Regions from separate parts of the Homo sapiens genome. Here all the other regions are linked to region 3. Evidence: promoter capture Hi-C in 16 types of primary human blood cells and fetal thymus (Javierre and others, 2016). All regions are on one chromosome and are shown on one strand. The core of a region is centred on a gene start or on the middle of the fragment in contact, and the rest is flanking DNA. Distances in the headings are between cores, read along the strand shown. Region 1 has its middle 20 kb from the start of CDC42EP1. Region 2 overlaps LGALS2 (galectin 2). Region 3 holds the start of CYTH4 (cytohesin 4).

What was found. Contacts are between HindIII fragments. The CHiCAGO score rates a contact against its expected background, and 5 or more counts as called.
Region 1: a fragment that was not itself captured here is called in contact with the fragment with the promoter of CYTH4 in region 3 in 1 of 17 cell types (non-activated CD4 T cells); the score reaches 5.4 in non-activated CD4 T cells.
Region 2: a contact is called between a fragment that was not itself captured here and the fragment with the promoter of CYTH4 in region 3, in 3 of 17 cell types (naive CD4 T cells, non-activated CD4 T cells and naive CD8 T cells). The highest score is 5.4, in naive CD4 T cells.

What each region holds. Positions count from the first base shown.
Region 1 is chr22:37,538,435-37,542,944 of GRCh38, forward strand. No RefSeq gene overlaps it. Among named protein-coding and RNA genes, the nearest start is that of CDC42EP1, 20 kb to the right of the region's middle. RefSeq lists enhancers at 1-331, 332-831 and a silencer at 450-639. The HindIII fragment of the contact is 2,819 bases long and covers 1,000-3,818 here.
Region 2 is chr22:37,573,885-37,578,160 of GRCh38, forward strand. The region is part of intron 1 of LGALS2 (galectin 2); the gene reads right to left. Among named protein-coding and RNA genes, the nearest start is that of LGALS2, 4.1 kb to the right of the region's middle. The HindIII fragment of the contact is 9,142 bases long and covers 1-4,276 here.
Region 3 is chr22:37,279,421-37,284,303 of GRCh38, forward strand. It overlaps CYTH4 (cytohesin 4), which reads left to right and starts at 3,088. Exons shown (of 13, transcript NM_013385.5): 1 at 3,088-3,168. The coding sequence starts at 3,150. RefSeq lists enhancers at 2,847-2,896, 4,443-4,492. The HindIII fragment of the contact is 11,420 bases long and covers 2,165-4,883 here.

The DNA of each region.
Region 1 (4,510 bases), core at 1,159-3,658, 260 kb after region 3:
CAAAAAGACTAATGTTTGGAAAGTACTCAGAATTGTATTCCCCAAAAATTCATTCCCCCAAGACCCACAGGCCTCAGGGGTCTGCAGGTCTCTCTCAGGGCCAGAGACGGGGAAGGGGCCACCTGGCAAGGGCGGTCCTTGGCACCTTCCCCCCTTTACAGAAGAGGTGTAGAGATGAGGGTCTCACTATGTTGCCCAAGCTGGTCTCGAACTACTGGGCTCAAGCAATCCTCCTGCGTCAGCTTCCCAATAGCAGGACACCCTGAGAAGTCTGAAGGCTCACGCCCAGACCCACGCACAGGTCTAGTTTTGGTCCACAGCATGGCGTGGGTGTGGCTTTGGAGTTGGCGGCAGCTGAAGGCTGGGTGACGTTAGCAAGGTCTCAGCCTCAGTCTCCTTATCTGAAAAACTGGATAGTAATTCCCTCTTTATACTGCGGCCATGAAGAAGAGGGCTGATGTGGGTGGAGTGACTGGTGGGGCAGGCGCTCTGTAAGTGGCTGTCAGCAGGGCAGGGGCTGGGCTCAAGCCTGTGACCACACTGCTCCAAGCTGGACACACGGTGGCGCCCTCGTCCCACAGGTGCAGCACCAGTTCTAGCCTCTGGTGGCATCGGTTACTGGAGGGAGGGAGGGAAGAAGAGAGGAACGGAGTTATATTTGCAAACACACTGCCCACTCTGGGCCCTAGGGGTGGAAAAGTGAATGAGGACCACACAGTTCCTACTCAAGGAGGCTGGATTGGAGGGGCTGGGAGCCCCAAGGAGGAGAGGAACGTGGGAGAGGGCACTGCCTGGGGATTTTGCAGTGGGTTGACTGGTGGCCCCCCTGCAAAAGACACGTCCACCTGGGACCAGGGAATACAGTCTTATTTGAAAAAAGAGTCTTTGCGAATGTAATGAAGATAAGAATCTCGGCCGGGCGCGGTGGCTCACTCCTGTAATCCCAGCACTTTGGGAGGCTGAGGCTGGCGGATCACCTGAGGTCAGGAGCTCAAGACAAGCTTGACCAACACAGCGAAACCCCCTCTCTACTAAAAATATAAATAAAAAATTAGCCAGGCGTAGTGGCGGATGCCTGTAATTCCAGCTACTTGGGAGGCTGAGGCAGGAGAATCGCTTGAACCCGGGAGGAGAGGGTTGCAGTGAGACCAGATTGCACCATTGCACGCCAGCCTGGGTGACAAGAACGAAACTCCATCTTAAAAAAAAAAAAAAGTAAGGATCTCAAGATGAGATCGTCCTGGATTATCCGTGGGGGGCCAAATCCACTGACAAGTGTCCTTACAAGAAGAGAAGATGCTGACACAGAGGGAGCTACACGGAAATGTCGGCAGAGGCAGGAGCGAGGCTGCCATAAGGCAAGGACACCTGGAGCCACCAGAAGCGGGAAGAGGCAAGGAAGGATTCTCCCCTAGCACCTTCAGAGGGAGCGGGGCCCCTCCAACACCTTGATTTCAGACTTCTGGATTCCAGAACTAATCATTTTTGTTTGTTTGTTTTTCAGTGACAGGGTCTTGCTCTATTGCCCAGGCTGGAGTGCAGTGGTGTGATCATAGCTCACTGCAGCCTTGACCTCCTGGGCTCAAGCGATTCTCCCACCTCAGCCTCCCAAGTGGCTGGGACTCCCAGCTCACACCACCATGTCCAGCTAATTTTTTAAAGTTTTTTGTAGAGATGAGGGTCTCACTATGTTGCCCAAGCTGGTCTCGAACTACTGGGCTCAAGCGATCCTCCTGCGTTGGCTTCCCAAAGTGCTGGGATCACAGGCGAGAGCCCTGCACCTGGCGTGGAGAGAATAAATTTTTATTGTTTTAAGCCACCAAGATTGTGGTCATTTGTTACAGCTGCCACAGGAAACTAATAGAGATGTTTAAATTTTCTTCCTGCCACTCGGTTCACTGACTCCCACTCCTAATAGCCTACAGGATTGTGCCCAAGGCCCCAAACTCCTGGCCCCCTACTTCCCCCCAAAACCCAAACTCCACCACACCCACTGCTCTCCAAACACACAGGCTATTTGACACCTCTGCACTCTTGCTTTGGCAGCTCTCTGTCTGGGATGCCCTTCCCTTGCTGATCCCCTGGACGACTACTACAGACATTTCAAAGTCCTCCTTCAACATCCCCTGCTAAGTATATTAGTATCTTCTGAATCAATGGCTTCCAGGACACTCACACTCCTCCATCTCCCTCAGCCCACTGTGTTCCTCGCTCCTTGTTTCATCACCAGCAGCTCAGCTACATGCCCCACCCCCTCCACTAGTCCTCTCCTGGCCTCTCCATCCCCAGAACTAATGCCCTCGTTCAGGAACCCCATCTCCCACCAGGCTTCTTGTGCCTACTCCTAACTGGTCCCTCTGCCCTGGTCTGGCCCCTCCAGTCCATCACCACTCTGTAGCCCTGGCGTTCAGCTCTACCATGTCACTCCTCTGCTCAAGAGCCTTCCATGGCTCCCTGCTGCCCTGAGGAGAATATCCAAAGGGAATGATAGTATCTTCAAATGCTCCTTCCCACCTCTCACCCCACCACTGTCCAACACATCCATGTGCTACACACCTCTGGGCATTTGCACAGGCAGTGGCCTTCCCCTGGCATGTCCTCTCCCTGTCTGCCAGGCATGCTCCAACCCATGTCTTGGGCAGCCCCTCCCACAGTACCCACCATTCAGCAGTGGCATCAGCTAAAACATCACAAGGCTGACCATACACCAGGTGCTGTCGTAAGCTCTTTACATGTGTTAACCCTTTGGATTCTCATAACAACACCAGGAAAAAGCCACCATTCCTGTGTCCAGCTCACGGATGGGAAAACCAAGGCCCAGATGGGAGAAGAACCATTCAGAAGTGGCAGAAGGAGGCCGGGCACGGTGGCTCACGCCTGTAATCCCAGCACTTTGGGAGGCCGAGGCGGGCGGATCACAAGGTCAGGAGATCGAGACCATCCTGGTTCACACGGTGAAACCCCATCTCTACTAAAAATTCAAAAAATTAGCCAGGCGTGGTGGTGGGCGCCTGTAGTCCCACCTACTCAGGAGGCTGAGGCAGGAGAATGGCGTGAACCTGGGAGGCGGAGCTTGCAGTGAGCCAAGATCGAGCCACTGCACTCCAGCCTGGGCGACAGAGCAACACTCTATGTCAAAAAAAAAAAAAGTGGCAGAAGGAGCCAAACCCAGCCTGCACTGTCAACCCTCCTGGTAGGGGCCTCAGAATTGTTGAACCTCCCCTTACCCATACCAAGCCCAAATGCACCACCCTCTCCTCCGTGGATTCCAAATTTTGTAAACACATCCCTCACTGTGCTGTGCAAGGGTTACCCCGATTACACGGTGGTCTTCCCCTCCCAGAAGCCCCCGGAAAACTTCACTGTTCTTGTCTAGGTCCCTGGTAACTGGCACAGTGCAGGAGTTTAATAAACGAGAATGAATGAGCTCATGAGCAAATGGTTTCCAGGGAAATTGGGCCCTGGGGATTTCTCACCCTCCTCAAAGAACAAATTATGCAAATTCTCTGGGACCAGGCCCTCTGCTTTCCTCCTCCCCACTAGGTTTCTGGGAGGGTGTCTGGGCTCACCAGAAAGTGCCCCGGGCTCTCTAGTGGCCCGTTTCCTGATTACAAATGAAACTAGGGCTTAAAGCTGGTGAATCACTAGCAACTGCCAGCCAGGGCGTGCTGGGTGTCAGGTGGGGTGGATGGGAGAAGGCAGGCTCACAACCAGACTTCCCTACTACTCCTGCCACCCCCAACTTTGCCATCGTGGCATGACCTCCCCAGCCACTGATGACACTAGCTAGGAAAGAGCCTAGCTCTGGGGGCTAGACAAGCTTGAGCAACTCCTGGACTGTCCACACTCCTATCCCTGAGCCTACCACCCCTGGGTCCCAGGAACCCACAGCCTGAACCATTCGCAAACCTCTTTCCCAAGCCCAGTCTCAGGTAACTCAGGGATGGTATCCAGGGAGGTACTGTATCCCCATTTTAGAAATACAGAAACCAAAGTTCAGGGTGAGGGAACTACCCAAGACCACCCCAAAGAAAGTAAGTAGGGCCTAGGAAGTTGAACCCCAGTCTTCTGCCTCTCCAGTGGGGTTTAAAGCAGAACTGGCCTTTTTTTTTTTTTTTTTTTTTTTTTTTTTGAGACTAGGAATTGCCCTGTGGCCCAGGCTGGAGCGCAGTGGTGCAATCATGGCTCACTGCAGCCTGCTCAAACTCCTGGGCTCAGGCGATCCTCCTGCCTCAGCCTCCTGAGTAGCACCACCATGCCCAGCTCATTTTCTTTTCTTTTCTTTTCTTTTTCTTTTTGAGATGGAGTCTCGCTCTGTCACCCAGGCTGGAGTGCAATGGCATGATCTCAGCTCACTGCAACATCCGCTTCCCAGCTTCAAGCAATTCTCCTGCCTCAGCCTCCCAAGGAGCTGGGATTACAGGCATGTGCCACCACACCCTAGAGATGGAGTCTCACTGTGTTCATTAGGCTGGTCTCAAACTCTGGGCCTCAAGCATTCGGCCATTTC
Region 2 (4,276 bases), core at 271-2,770, 290 kb after region 3:
CATGCCTAATTTTTGCATTTTTAGTAGAGACAAGGTTTCACCATGTTGGTGTGGCTGGTCTCAAACTCCTGGCCTCAATTGATCTGCCCACCTCAGCTCCCCAAAGTGCTGGGATTACAGGCGTGAACCAAGCCCAGCCTTAATTTTCTTTTTTAAATTTTTTCTTTTTTTCTGGACAGTGGTCTGCCCAAATGACCATCATTTTGATTACTTGTTGTTAAGATTCATCTGCTCCTTATTTTCCATAGGAAAGCAGCACCTGAATTTCTGTACAGTAGGAGCCTCCTCTAGCCTCACGATGGTTACTAGGGAAGATTTCTAAGCTGGGTTTTCAAAGCTCATTACCCAGGGCTGGGAGCGGTGGCTCACGCCTGTAATCCCAGCACTTTGGGAGGCTGAGTCGGGTGGATCACCTGAGGTCAGGAGTTTGAGACTGGCCTGGCCAACATGGAGAAACCCTGTCTCTATTAAAAATACAAAAATTAGCCGGGTGTGGTGGCACATGCCTGTCGTCCCAGCTACTTGGGAGGCTGAGGCAAGAGAATCGCTTGAACCCAGGAGGTGGAGGTTGCAGTGAGCCGAGATTGTGCCAGGCGACAGAGCAAGACTCTGTCTAAAAAAAAAAAAAAAAAAAAACTCATTACCCAAGACCAGTTTTCGCATCTATGACCAGAGGGTGAGGGTTGGTCTGACCAGGACGCAACAGGCACCAAAGATTTAGAACAACTTATGGGAGGACACTTTTACATTGTGGGAGTTCTGCTCACTGACTTTTTATTTCCAGAAAAAGCATGATCTGAGATGCCCTGAATGAGCTCATTGGACTGGGGCACTTTGCCAGAAGTCAAGGGGGCAGTGGCCATGGGAGGACCCTCAGTGCCCTCTCGCTGGCAGCCGCCTCCTCTCTGCAGAGGAGGAAGTGACCCGCTGGTTGGTCACATGTAGGGGTAGGTTGTTAGGTATTGCTCAACTCTTCCACAGGCAGTAAGTTCTTTTTTTTTTTTTTTTGAGATGTTGAGATGGAGTCTCACTCTGTCACCCATGCTGGAGTGCAGTGGTGCAATCTTGGCTCACTGCAACCTCCACTTCCCAGATTCAAGCAATTATCCTGCCTCAGCCTCCCGAGTCACTGAGATTACAGGCTCCCACCACCATATCTAGCTAATTTTCTTTGTATTTTTAGTAGAGACGGGGTTTCACCACTTTGGCCAGGTTGGTCTCGAACTCCTGACCTCAAGTGATCCTCCCCTCTGGGCCTCCCAAAGTTCTGGGATTATAGGGGTGAGATACCACACCCAGCATTTTTTTTCTTTTCTTTCTTTTTTTTTTTTTTTTGAGACAGGGTCTTGCTCTGTCACCCAAGATGGAGTGCAGTAGCACGATTATAACTCACTGCATGCAGCCTCATAGCCTCCTGAGCTCAAACGATTCTCCTGCCTCAGCCTCCTAAGTAGCTACGACTATAGACGTGTGCCACCATGCCCAGCTAATTTTTAAAATTTTTGTAGAGATAGGGTTTTGCTATGTTACCCAGGCTGCTCTGGAACTCCTGACCCTCAAGTGGTCCTCCTGCCTCAGCCGGTAATACATTTTTTTTTAAAGGTCTTGCTCTGTCACCCAGGCTAGAGTGCAGTGATATGATCAGAGCTCACTACAGCCTTGACCTCTTGGGCTCAAGCAATCCTCCCACCTCAGCCCCCCAGGTAGCCTGGACCACAGGCATCCCACCTGGCCCAGCTGATTTTTTTTTTTTTCAGATGGGGTCTCACTATGTTGTCCAGGCCAGCCTCGACCTCCTGAGCTCAAAGGATCCTCCCACCTCGGCCTCCCAAAGTGTTGGGATTACAGGTGTAAGCCACTGTGCCCGGCCTGGCAGTACATTTTATAAGAGACGCCTGGAGGAGGCAGCAATGCTTAACCCAGGACAGCGGGCCATGACGGCGGCATGTCAGACAGGAGGCTGCTCAGACCAGAGCTTCTCAGCCTTGGCCGTCTGGACGTTTGGGGCAGGCATTTCTTTGTTGGGGTCTGTCTCTTGTGTTGTAGGATGTTGAGCAGTATTCCTGGCCTCTACCCACTGGATGTCAGTGACACCCTCCCCTGAGCGGTGACAACCAAGAATGTCTCCAGACAGGGTCCGTTGTCTCCTGGGAGCAAAACCTCCCTGCTTTAGAGAAAGTGGGGTTTGGAGGCTGGACACCTAACTCCCCATGTCTTTGCTTAACACAACGGGGTTGGGTCCAGATTTTGGAGCCAGACAGACGGGATTAAAATCAGTCTCTTGCTGGCCAGGGGCGGTGGCTCACACCTGTAATCCCAGCACTTTGGGAGGCCGAGGGGGGCGGATCACGAGGTCAGGAGAGTGAGATCATCCTGGCTAACACGGTGAAACCCTGTCTCTACTAAAAATACAAAAAATTAGCCGGGCGTGGTGGCAGGCGCCTGTAGTCCCAGCTACTCGGGAGGCTGAGGCAGGAGAATGGCGTGAACCCGGGAGGCGGTGCTTGCAGTGAGCCAAGATGGCGCCACTGCACTCCAGCCTGGGCGACAGAGCGAGACTCCGTCTCAAAAAAAAAAAAAAAAAAAAAAAAATCAGTCTCTCACTGACAAAGACCATTATCTCTGGGAGATGAGGTTATCCAGTGAGGACAGTCCAAAAGGGGCTCAAACAAGAAACAGAAGACAGGTGTGCCCGCCACACAGACACTCACAGACGTGTGCCCTGCGCACACACACGTCTAACACCAAGCATCAGGAGATGGCTCCCTGCCTCCTGCCAGCAGCCTGTGCCCACACCCCGAGCCCTGCAACAGTCAGGCCAGGATAGGGGAGCTGGGCCTGGACTAAGAGAAGCACCCACACTCCCCTTGCAGCTCCTGGGGGCTGCCTGACTGAAACAGCAAAGCTCAAACCCCAAGGATAGAGGTGGGGGCTGCTGCAGGGCAGAAGCACTCGGAAGTCCAGGGTCAGGGGTGCACTTGGACAAATAGGGATGCTGAGAGCTGCGGGAGGGTGCAGGCCCGGGAGCCTTGTCCCCACCCAACAGAGTCAAAGGCGCAGAGAGAGACAGGCAGAACTGGGTGGGGGTGTGGTCGTCCCTAGAGCTGGGGGGGTGGGGAGTTGGGGGCCCAGACTCTAGTGCCGACTCTGCCCCTAATTGGCAGAGGGGCCTGGGGCCAGCTTAGCCCCTTTCTGGGCCTTGGTTCCCTTATCTGTCGTATAAGGGATTTGGATGATATGGCCTCTGGAGCTGGAGAGAGAGGAAAGAAAAGGCAGAGGTGAGATGACCAGGAAAGAGAAGGTGGGGAGAGTCCGTGGGCCACAGCAGTCCTCCCCGAGAGGCAGAGGGTGATGAGGGCATAGACCCTTCCACGCAGGACCCCTGGCACATTCACATCCTGCATCCCCCCTGCACTTGAATAGCGTCCCCCGAAAATTCATGTCCACCTGGAACCTGTCAATGTGACCTTTTTTTTTTTTTTTGAGATGAAGTCTCACTCTGTCACCTAGGCTGGAGTACAGTGGCTCGATCTCGGCTCACTGCAACCTCTGCCTCCCGGGTTCAACCGATTCTCCTGCCTCAGCCTCCCAAGTAGCTGGGATTACGGGTGCCCACCACAACATCTGTCTAATTTTTTTTTCTTCTTCTTCTTCTTTTTTGTTTTTGTATTTTCAGTACAGACAGGGTTTCACCATGTTGGCCAGGCTGGTCTTGAACTCCTGATCTCAAGTGATCCGCCTGCCTCGGCCTCCCAAAGTGCTGGGATTACAGGGGTGAGCCACCCCGCCCAGCCTCAATGTGACCTATTTAAAAATAGTTCCTTTGCATATGTAATCGAGTTAAGAGGTCATACTGGTTTAGGGTTGGTCCTAAATCCAATACGACCAGTGTTCTCATAAGAGGAGAGAAATATAGACACAGAGACGGAGACACACAGAGGAGTCCACGTGAAGTTGGAGGCAGAGATTGGAGTGATGCAAGCCAAGGAATGCGAGGAGCCACCAGAAGCTGGAAGAGGCAAGAAAGAACCCTCCCCTTGCGCCTTCAGCAGGAGCGTAGCCCTGTAGCACCTTGGTTTCAGGTTTCTAGTCACCAAAACCAAGACAGAACAAACGTCTATCGTGTGAAGCCACCCACAATTTGGTGGTAATTTGTTATTGCAGCCCTAGGCAATGAATACACCATCTAATCCTCAGAAGAGGCAGCCTGTGATCCCCTTCCACAGATGTAAGGAAGACTGGGGCTCAGAGACGGTCAGTGACTTGGCCAAGGCCA
Region 3 (4,883 bases), core at 1,838-4,337:
TCCTGCTCTCCTCATTGCCTGTGCTATTGGTTCCCAGCAAATCTTGCAGCCAAACCTGGACAAGGAGTGACGGAGAAAATGATGAAGTCAGTTCTGCTAAACTCTTTGCTGCTCACAGTGAAAGAGTCCCTCCCTCCCAGGCTGTCTGCATATAAGCCGTTAAACATGACCAGCGTTGTGGGAAAGAGGGAGGGGAGGTGTCATCACAACGGACCTCACAGAGGAGGTGGTATTTGAGGTATGTCTTAGAGAATAAGACAGTAACAATAGCTGAACCACACAACCGTGACCATCCATCAGACAAAAGGGAAGTGTCAGATGCCAAACCGTGGCCTGGTCAAGACACATTTACTGGATCAGCCGCAAGATCAGGCAGCCTTCCCCAAGGCCATCCCAGGTTCAGTGGTTTACTAGGTGGACTCCCAGGACTCAGCTCATGGTCATACTTACGGCTATGATCTATGGCAGTGAAAGGACTCAAAGCAGAATCCGCAAAGGCGCCGTGGCGAAGTCCAGAGGAAACCAGGGGCAGCTTCCAAGAGTCTGCTCCCAAAAGAGTCACACGGGACACGCTCAATTCCTCCAGCAACAAGTCGTGAAAGCACCTGTGAGATGGGATGCTGCCAGGGACGCTAGGCAAATAGGTTAGGCCCAGTAAGCCACTCTCATCAGTTAGGGTGGTGGGAGCCCTCCCCAAATCCAAGCTCCCAGGTGCCAGCCAAGGGTCAACTTTGCAAGCATGACTTTCTAAAGATAGCAGTCTCCGGCCTGCAGTGTGAAGTCTTTCTGCACAGGGAATTATATATACCTTTCTCCATATTTCTAGGGGTTATTTTGTTTGTTTTGTTTTTTCTTTTGTTTTGTTTTTGGAGACGGAGTCTCACTCTGTTGCCAGGCTGGAGTGCAGTGGCGCGATCTCAGCTCACTGCAACCTCCGACTCTCTGGTTCAAGTGATTCTCCCGCTTCAGCCTCCCAAGTAGCTGGCATTATAGGCACCCGCCACCATGCCCAGCTAATTTTTGTATTTTTAGTATAGACGGGGTTTCACCACGTTGGCCAGGATGGTCTTGATCTCCTGACCTTGTGATCCACCCGCCTCGGCCTCCCAAAGTGCTGGGATTACAGGCATGAGCCACTATGCCCAGCCCACATTTCTAGTTTTAAAATGGCCAAGGGCATGGTTTGTGGTGCCTCAGGCCCAAAGCAGTTGAGAAAAATCTAGTTTACCATGGAAATAATTGTAACAAGTTTTCCAGAAAAGAACCATGAGTTATACAAGAACCCAGGTGGAGGCAGGGCAGGGGAGAAGCAGCGGGGTTCAAAAATCCTGAGCACACTAGACGGGGACTTAGTAGGCCTGGCTTCTGGGCCTGAATTGGCACTCACTCAAGTTCCAACTTGGTCAAGTGTTTCCCAGAAATAAGCCTCAGTTTTCTCTCCGAGGAAATGACAGCATTGGATTTCTTCTGTATCAGCAAGCTTTGGCTGCATAACAAAGCATCCCAGAAGTTGGTGGCTTAAACCACAAAAATGTATTATTTCCCACAGTGCTATGGGTCAGCAGTTTGGGTGGGACTCCGCTTGATGGTTCTTCTTCTGGTGTCCCCTGGCCTCACTGATGAGGCAGCAACCAGGGGACAGCCAAGACAGCCCAGCCTATCTCCTTGTGGTCCTCCGTCTTCCAACAGGCTAGCCCAGGCTTGTTCTCATGGTAGCCAGGCAGGGGGCTGAGAGCAAGAGCAGGAGCTGCAAGGCCTTTTAAAGCTCAGCCTCGAACATCACGGCACATCATTTCTGCCACGTGCTATTGGTCAAAGAGATGCCCAAGGCCAGCTCAGCTTCCAAGGAAGGAGAAATGGACTTCGCCCCTTGACAGCAGAAGCGGCGGCATAGTGAAAAGGAGGTGAACTTGTAGCTAGCTTTCACATCGGCCGTGATCTCTTCCATGTTCCCTTCATTCATTCATTCATTCATTCATTTGTTCATTCATTCCACACTTGCACACCCTCTATGTCCCCAGCATTTTACCACACACCAGAACACAAAAGGTAACCTTGCCCTCATGGGGCCTGGAGAGTAATGGGGAAACAGATGAATAACTCTGCATGTGTCCTGAAGTTATAGGGAATTCACATTTAATTTATACCTGTTTCTTTACAGCAAAGCTTTTTGCAGAAAGGATTTGAACCAACCTGCCAGAAAAGGCACAAGGAATAACATGATACATTTTAACCAAAGAAGATAATTAAAATCAAAGGAGAAAGTGTTTATTGAGCACCTACTATGTCCCAAGCATCTCCGACACATCCTCTCACTCCATGGTTTCCATATCCCCGAGTTAGTGTTATTCCCCTTTCAGAGATAAGCAAAGCGAGGCTGACTAGCCCTAGCTGAGAGTCAAACAGCTGAGTCAGGCCCCAAAGTTCACATGACATCATAGAATAGCTGTCGATGAGCTTTGGATTTGACGATGAGTTTCCCAGCAGCCTGGGGGAGAAGGAAAGTGGAACATATTACCCGATTGTTCACTAGACAAGAAAAAGCCAGATATTTCTTTGAAGGGAAGCAAAGCCCTTCCTAGCAGTGAATTCATTTGTCTCTTCTCAAGTGGGAGTTGGAAGAGAGCTTGTGGGGTGGAACACAGGGGGCCCTGCTAGGACTGTCCAAGTTGGGCGCTCCTATGGCATATATGTGAGGAGGCTGCCACGTGAATGCCCATGGTCCCCTGGAAAATGTTCGTCCTCAGTGAACATCGCCCTCGGTGTCTGTGCATGTGTACGTGTGTATGTGCATATGTGTCTGTGTGTTTCTTTCTGTCTCACTGTCTTTCTCTTTTTTATCTGGCCCTCCCCTCACTTCATCTGTTTGTTTGTTTGTTTGTTTGTTTGTTTCCACCTCTGTCCCTCCCTGGCAAAAGTCCCTGCTGCTCAAAACTCTGCCAGTTTTTAGGAAGTGCTGTTTTGTCAAAAGCCTGCACACGAGACCCCCGTGGGCCAGGACTGACTTCCTCCCCACACAGGGCTGGGCGGGGCAAGCAGGAAGGAGCCTGTTACAGTCAAGGTGACGCATCCTTGCCGGGCCAGCCCGAACAGCAGCTGGGTCGGCAAGCGACAGGAGCACGGGTCATCTTTTCCCCAGAGGCGTCGGAATGGACCTGTGCCACCCAGGTAAGCAACTGCCGTCAACCTCTCTGGGCCTCAGGGTGCTCTCTTTTAGAATGGGACAGCAGCCCCTGCCTCACAGGGTCCTAGATAAAGGAATACAGCGCAGGTGGGAAATGCAGCTGCAAGAAGCAAACATTTGTGGGCTCAGCCTGTGTGTCCAGTTGCGTTCTAGGGGCTGGACACACAGCAGTAGCAAAGCAGACGCTGTTTCCCCCTTCATAGGCTTGTGCTCTAGATGAGGAGACCGGCAGTGACTCTAATGTGATTCCATATGTCAGTTGATGGCAGGTAGGATGAAGAACAGTAAAGCAGGGTAAGGAAGACAGGAATGCATGGTGGAAAAGGCCCCAAGAGGAGATGCTGTCTGATGAGGGACCTGAGGAAGATGTCAGCTAAGGGGCTTTCTAAGGAACAAACATTCCAGCCAGAAGGAACAGCCAGTCCAAAGGCTCAGAGGTGGACTCAGAAAAGTGACTTGCGATTAAGATGATGATGGGATGTTGGTGATGGCGATGCTTGTCTGGGTGATACAAGGGCCTTGAGGCCCCTTTTTGGCCCCCGGGGGTTGGGGTGGTCTTTGGGGAGGCTGAGGACGCTGCCTAGAGCCAGGGGAGGGCCAGGAGTGAGCAACAGAGGCTCTGGTTGAAACCCTCCCCAGCTACTAAGACAATGTGTCTGGGGAGAAAGAGGAGAAAGGAGGCTGCAAAGATGGTGAGGAAAAGAACATCAGGGTCGTGTTTTGGGAGGCAAATTGAAGGCCCGGTAGAGGGGCCAAGTTTCTGCACCCTGGATGTCAGCATGCTCCAGAGCTGCAACAGTTCTGGTGAACACGGCTGCTGGAATTCCAGAACCTAAGGGCTCGTGGGAGCTGTCTGCTCCCCAGGTCCAGATGACCTCAGCCTTGTCCAGGAGCACCCTTGCTTCAAACGCACCTAATGTGGAGCAGCCTGGCCCCGCCCACTGGGCATCCCCCTTCCTCCCCACCCCCAGATGGAAGCCTCGGGCCCCAGGGAACCCAGAGAACCACTGATCCATTTCAACAGCCCCCCCAGTGGCAGAAGGGAGAAAAGAGGCCAAGGGAGGAAAACAGCCTCTCTAAGGCAGGAGCAGGACCAAATCCTGTTCCCTGAATCCCTATCCAGGGCTCACTCTGACCCCTGCCTCTCCCATGGGCTTTGGGGGCTCCCAAAATCACAGCTCAGTGAGCACAGCTTGGGGGCACCTGGTTGGCACAGGGAGACCCAGCGAAGGGCAGCACCTGGCTCAGGCCTCTCAGCAGACATGAGGGTGGGATGAGGGGGGGAGGGCACCCACCGAGATGCAACCCCCCTGCCTGTGTGTCCAGCAGGGCGCTTTGTCCTTTCGGGTCCTAACATACTGAGGTTACAGGGATGGCTGTCTCCATGTTGCAGATAAGGAAACTGAGGCTCCCAGAGGTGAACTAGAGACGGGGACTGACTTGCTTGAGGTCACACGGCCAGTCAGCAGCAGAGCAGGGACGAGAACCTGCGGGAGAGAGCCCCAGGTTGGCCGGGGCTATGGAGAGGGCAGGGGAGGGGAGTCTCTGCTTTGCTTCAGCCGGTACTAGGGAGGAAATGGATTAAATGGGGTCAATGGGTTCTCCATCGAGTAGTTGGTCTTTTCATTCATTCACTCTACAAACGACCTTCCAGTGTGCTATGCAGTGCTGGGGACAGCAGTGACCCAGCCATGGGCCT